2 separate regions of the Homo sapiens genome follow, and region 2 is linked to region 1. The links are contacts of gene promoters, found by promoter capture Hi-C in blood cells and fetal thymus (Javierre and others, 2016). All regions are on one chromosome and are shown on one strand. The core of a region is centred on a gene start or on the middle of the fragment in contact, and the rest is flanking DNA. Distances in the headings are between cores, read along the strand shown. Region 1 holds the start of SHROOM3 (shroom family member 3). Region 2 has its middle 71 kb from the start of CCNG2.

The links. The method cuts DNA at HindIII sites, captures the fragments that hold promoters and counts their contacts. A CHiCAGO score of 5 or more calls a contact.
Region 2: a contact is called between a fragment that was not itself captured here and the fragment with the promoter of SHROOM3 in region 1, in 1 of 17 cell types (naive CD8 T cells). The highest score is 6.0, in naive CD8 T cells.

The regions. Positions count from the first base shown.
Region 1 is chr4:76,433,707-76,436,853 of GRCh38, reverse strand. SHROOM3 (shroom family member 3) reads right to left here and starts at 1,625. Exons shown (of 11, transcript NM_020859.4): 1 at 634-1,625. The coding sequence starts at 801. The HindIII fragment of the contact is 11,529 bases long and covers 1-3,147 here.
Region 2 is chr4:77,227,083-77,230,229 of GRCh38, reverse strand. No RefSeq gene overlaps it. Among named protein-coding and RNA genes, the nearest start is that of CCNG2, 71 kb to the right of the region's middle. The HindIII fragment of the contact is 1,880 bases long and covers 684-2,563 here.

The DNA of each region.
Region 1 (3,147 bases), core at 376-2,875:
ATATTTCATTGGTATGACTACCCACACCAAAAGATAAATGAAGAATTGAGGTATGCTGCAGGATGACTAAGGTTTAAAAAGGGATTCAAATATACAGATAAATAGGAGAGGCAGAAATGTTTTGATCTTGAGTTATGCTGAAAGCTGATTTAATTCTCCTTTCTGAGTGTGGGGAAAAAAAGCAACACATGGTATTTATGCAATCTATTATCCAGAATTATAAGCAAACTTAAAATATTTTTAGATGCTATTTTCAGTTGAAGAGAGAAAAAGCAGATATTTTTGAATGCACAAATATATACCATGCCACCATCTTAACCATGTTATTAATCTTTAATCTGATTTATAACTGAAAAGCTCATGTGGTAACTGATTGTATGCGATTTCATTCACAAAAAGAGAAGATTATCCATCAAACAGGCATATTTTTCTTCGGATTTCATAGAATAAATGAGCTAGACACATTTTTCTTTCAAATCCCAGGCTATCCAAAATATTTCTAGATAATCAGAAAGGCATGAAACAGCAAATTAAGTTATATTAAGGCAGTTCTCATTATTTTGCATTTTTGACAAATCTGACAAGTTGAAAAAAACAATTTGAATAAAGGCAATATTGGAAAAAGAAACATACCTTAGAGATGATTAATGGTTCTCCGTGCTCCAGGCCACCCTTTAGAGTAAAACCCCAGGGAGCTCCTCCCTCCAGGAATGCCTCCAGATAAATGTACCTTCCCTTGGTGGCCGTGTTAGAGTTTAATGTGGCACTAGGCTTGTGGAAGTCTTCAGTGGTCCTCATCATGCCAAACACATGATCCCTCAAGTTAAATTTAAAATGCCTGAAGCAAACTCAGGCAAGCAGTGCTTCTACAGCACAAGTTGTCCCATCCTTCAGGACACACAATGGCCAAAAGAGAGGTTTGGAGAAGCAAATTCTTCCATACGTAAAATGTTCTTCCAAGCTGAACTCCAAGATGCTGAACCAGAAGGAATTTTCACTTCAACATTTCTGAATGTAAATCCTCCTCCAGGAATTCTGGGTTCTCACTGAAGCCCCCAAGTGGTATACATCTCTACTCCGTTCGTCAAAACTTCCTTCAGTGGCGCTCTGAAGATTGCTTTTCTGAGCTTTTATTTCACACATACACACACTAAAACCATTTCTGCCTATTTTACAGAGAAAATTAAAAGCATCTTACAATATAGTAAGAAAATCACAAATACTCAAAGGAATACCTCATTTTTGATTGATTATCAACCCTTTCTTCCTCTCGGAGTGAAATTTACCATTACAATAGCCTCCTCCCTCCCCAGAAGTAGCTTAAAAAGAAAGAAAGCACTTACTATGCTTCGGCTCACTTCAGAATTTTCTAACTTGTCCCGAAGAGACAGAGAAGCTGTGCTAAAACTTTTTACTTCTTTTTTTCAACAATCAGTTCATAGTTTGTTTCTTAGGAGAGAAAAAAACTTTTGCAGGATGTAGAGAAAATGAAAAAGCACGGTAAATTAATCCTCAATGGAAAAAATATGAAGGAGGCAGCTCAGTTCTTTTCTTTGGTATTTTCAGTGATGATCAGCCACTGCTGCGGCCGCCACAGCCACTTGCCTCCTCTTGAGAGAAAGAGTAAGGAAGTTAGAGGAACATGGATTAAGGCAAAGTGAGGCATTGCAACCTTTCTGCACAGTAAGCACTGCCATGCAGAATTCAGCTCACCACAAAGACCTGACAATTCAAACAGTCTTACAGTTAATAACACGTAGGAAGTTAAAAATACTATACAGATGGCTAATTGCCAAGGGATAGAAAATAGTTCCTAGAATAGCCCCGCCTCGTACCAATTAAAGGAGAATTTCAGGGAGTGAGACATAGGCATTTGTGTTTTTAAAAACCCTCCAGGCAATTCTGCTATGCAGCCAAGTTTGAGAAGCAATGCCTAAGTGATTTGGGTAAACGTTTAAGTACATGTCAAGGTGGTGGCACAAGGGCTTTTTTTTTTTCGTTAGAAGAAAATACTACCAGTGTAATATATGAAATGGGACTTTCCAATCAAAGTTCTGCTTGTTTGACTCAATAAAAACAGGAGGTGGGTTTTTTTTTCTAGGTTTTCATTGTTATCTACTCCAAGATTGTTATCCACTCTTTAAATGAAAAGAAATCTACAATGCCTTGTGGGTAAGTACTAGGTACTCGGGAAAGAATGTTGTTCTGATTTCATGTTACCAGTGTCATTTTGTAATAATGTTATATACAAATTTAACATTCATGCTTTGTATTAAAAATTTGAACAGTAGAAGATAACCATATCTAACCCAGAAGCCTCAGCTATTTAGTTATTGGAACAGATTAGAATTACTTCCAGGTAATATATGTACTAAAACTTTTTTCTGTTTAAAAGTATGGGATAATGAGAATTAAGTTGAAAACTGAAGTTAAAAACTACTGTGGGGCTTGATAACAATTATTTTGGTGTTTGTACTTATAATTAATGAAAGGCTGATATGGAAAGGCAGGTATATGATATCAAACTACACGATATTTAATTTACAACACTGGACAGGTATTGTTTGATTTTCAATGGTAACTTCACTTGAAGGGCTCAAAGACAAAAAAAAAAAAAAAAAAGTAAAACCTTATGTAATGGTAGTATGTGAATGGAAACATAAGGAAACCTAAGGTGTACCAAATGAAAGTATGTGGTAAAAATTGGCTGATTCTTAAGGGTAATTTACGCAATTTCTATTGTGGTTTTCTTTTACAGCTTAATTTGTAAGTTAGAATAAATGGAGAAACATTAGCTTTTCTTTCATTTCAAAGAACATATGTATTTTAAATAAAAGTCCTAGGTAAATGAACAGCTTTCTTTCTGAAAAAATTAATTTATGAGGCTCTTATTATGTTACTCCTAATACATTTTGTAAAAACTGGGATTTTACAGAATCCACATTTAATATTAAAAGTAACATAGCTATACAAAATTTCAGTTAGGAGGCATAAGCTCAAGAGATCTATTGTACAGCATGATGACCATAGTTATAACAATGTATTGTATATTTGGAAATTGCTAAGATTAGATTTTAAGTGCTCTCACCACAAAAAAAATTAGTATGTGAGGTAATAGGTTAATTCCTTGATTTAGCCATTTTACAA
Region 2 (3,147 bases), core at 374-2,873, 790 kb before region 1:
TATAGTTTTGGGTAACAGTTTTACTCTGCAACTCAAGTTTGGGTATTATATCCCAGTCGTACTGCTGCAATGGTGAAATAAAACCTCTCAATGCCAGAGGTAGTCCAGCATAAAAGAGGGCCTAATGTTAAAAGTTGAAGCCAGTGGAATATTGAAGTATTAGCCAGTGAAAGCCAAGTTACCTTTATGACTCATTTGGCTGAGTCCTACACCATGGCTACTCATGTATCTTATACATGTCTCCATCATTGGGTGCTTTTGAGTATGGCTATCTTTGGACCTGGACACTAGATCCCCTCCATTATGCTGTCTTTATGTTTACCCATATTCCCGGTAAGGATTTCAGGAGCCACCAAATCCTATTGATTACATCTCTTGTGTCCTTCAAATGTTTTTTGCATTTCCAATCCTGCCACCCTATTCCATTTCTCACCAAGACTTGGACACTCAAAATGGCTTCCCCTGCCCATGATTCCTGACATCTTTGTTTTCTAGAATGGCAAGTTTATAAAATTAAGTCTGATGACAAACACCTGCAAATCACCTGTAATTCTTAACAGCTTCCCTACTACATGTCAGGTCATGTCCAAAATCCTTGGCAAGACTAATGAGAATGTAACCTAGTGCCCAGCTTCCCCTCCCACTCTGCTAGGCTCAGCAAGTACAAGTCGGTGTCTGAAGCTTGGAGCCACACCATTAAGTTTCTGAGCATCTTGGGGAGCACATAGGGTGACCAGCCATGAAGGAAGATGACCGAAGGTGAGACAGTAACTTCTGAGCTGAAACCTAAAGCATAGTAAGAAGCCCCAACCCTAAAGCAATGTAGGGTGAAAAAACATGAACCATATCTAAAAATTCCCAAATTGGCCAGCAGCTCTAGAAGGTGGCCCATTGTAGCAGATGTGAGGATGACTGACCAAGCCCAGAGGCATGGGTGGCAGTGGTCTACAGAAGTTTCAGGAGAGATTAATCTATGTTAATGGGTGGAGGCAGGTGAAGAGGTAAATGGAATCCAACTCTTTTCAGTCTGTATCTAGTACACAGAATTCCCTCAGACAATTAGTCTGTGGTATGGATTGGAGTGGAATCCCCACCTATCAAGTCTTGGCTCCAAGGTATATCAGGAAACCTGGAGGATAATATCTGAAGAAAAGCCAAGATCCTAAATCTAGCTGTGCCCTTCATCTAGTGAAGATGCATCTCCCCCACCTCACAGATGGGCCCAGGCAGGACATGGGACTCAGGAGGTCCTAAGACTACCTGGGCAGGGAACAGTGAATACTCATGGGGGATGTACTTTAAGTGCTTCTATGCTTCTGCTCCCACTCCACCAGGACCATGCCATCCTGGCCTGTTGCTGTAAGGTCTAGGTGCCTTTTCCTAGGAAAGGGAACAAGAATGTCGTGCAGGCATATTAGCTTTTCTCCAGCCAAGTCTTTAGCAATAAGATGAGAGTTAGGAGTAAATCACAGCTTCTGTCACATGGTAGGCATACAAGTATACAAGCCTCATTTAACACACCTGACATGAAGAGGGAGCTACCTGGGGTGTGAGGGAAGTCTACTGTAAGTCTACCACGTTTCTTTCAACTCTGAGCCTTCAACTCTGAATCAGGCCTTCAAAGTCTCCAAAATGAAGTAAAAAGTAAGGTTTTAGTCATCTGGCAATTAACCAGTCAAATATACCTCCGTTTTACAACGACAAGCAGTTTAAGACATTCTACATCCAGAATCAAAGATTAAGACACCACCCTGGATACATTCTGCACAGACACTGCCCATGGTTGATGGGTACTTCATGTGGATCATCTCAACCTTCATCCCCTAGGGGTTCCCCAGCTTGAGTCTTCCCCTCAGAGGGAGGTAGAGAGTTGAGCCTGCCATCCCAAGGTCCTTCCTACTCTGGGGACTGAAATGTCCCACATCCATGGCAGCTGCCCCAGATCTGGCTGGGATCCCTATATTGAGGCTGTCTACTCCCACAGCTGATTTTACTCTGCCCTCCCCTGTGGATCATGCTATGAGACTAGTTTCCTCCAGGTGGCATAAGAATGGTTTACTCTCAGCCAATCTAAAAACCATATTGTAGGATTTTAGAAGAAAATGCCAAGAGACAGAACTAATGTGCAACTCCCACTTGGACAGAAAGAACAGTGTGGAGACTCACATCATGGGCTTTTACTCCAAGAGCCACTGCAGGAACATACCAGGAAAACAATTCAGACCCTTTGAAAGAAGCAGCTTGCTGCTGCAAAATCCATGAGACAGCCAAAAAACTGAGCTCCCAAAAGTGTGAGAGGGGGAGAAGCCTGCTTTCAAACACACATCCCCACTGAGGAACATGAAAACCCAGATCACAGGAGGAGGATTTAACCTTACCTAGAGCTGAAACTCATCTAGGGAGTGGAGTGAAATACGTAAGTAGAAGCAGCAACTAGAAGAGCCCTATAGGCACTCCCAATCCCCAGCTCAGGCCCAGGGAAGCCATTTCCTGGCCCTCTCACAGGGGTCCTTGGGGAAGGCAGCCAGTGAAATTGGAGAGGGGCCACAAGGTGAAGGAAGCTTCTAGCTGAAGTTTGTACTAAATTAAGCATAAATTTTCCTGAGCAGAATCCAGGGAGTTAAACAGGCAGTGCAGATACAAGTAGAAGCTACAGCCATTGGTTCATGAGCTGCCTGAGAGCCCTGCTTTCTCAGTGTAAAGGCTTATAGCCTGAGGCAAGATCTCAGCCCTGCACACCCGCTGCCTGGATATAAACTCAGTGCTGTTGGCAGGGCACAGCAGGAGCCAGAATGGCCTTGCCGGCTACATAGCAGCTGGGTGAGGCCTGTCACTACCAGCTTTCCCCCACTTCCCTGGAAACCTGTATGACACAGCAGAGGCAGCCATAATCCCCCCAGAAACAGATCCATTGGCCTGAAAACCACCCCCTATCCCCTCCCACAGTGGCTGCAGCAAGCCCCACCCCAGGAGTCTGAGCTCAGACTCACCTAGCCATGACCCCACCTGATTTTTTTCCTACCTGCTGTGATAACCAAAGAAACTCTTGGGAGCTCTATGGCCCCACCCATCACCTGAGAAACCCAAGTACTCACCCTGGCCAACACAGGGGAAGATTATATCCTCTTATACTACTGCAGCTGGTGC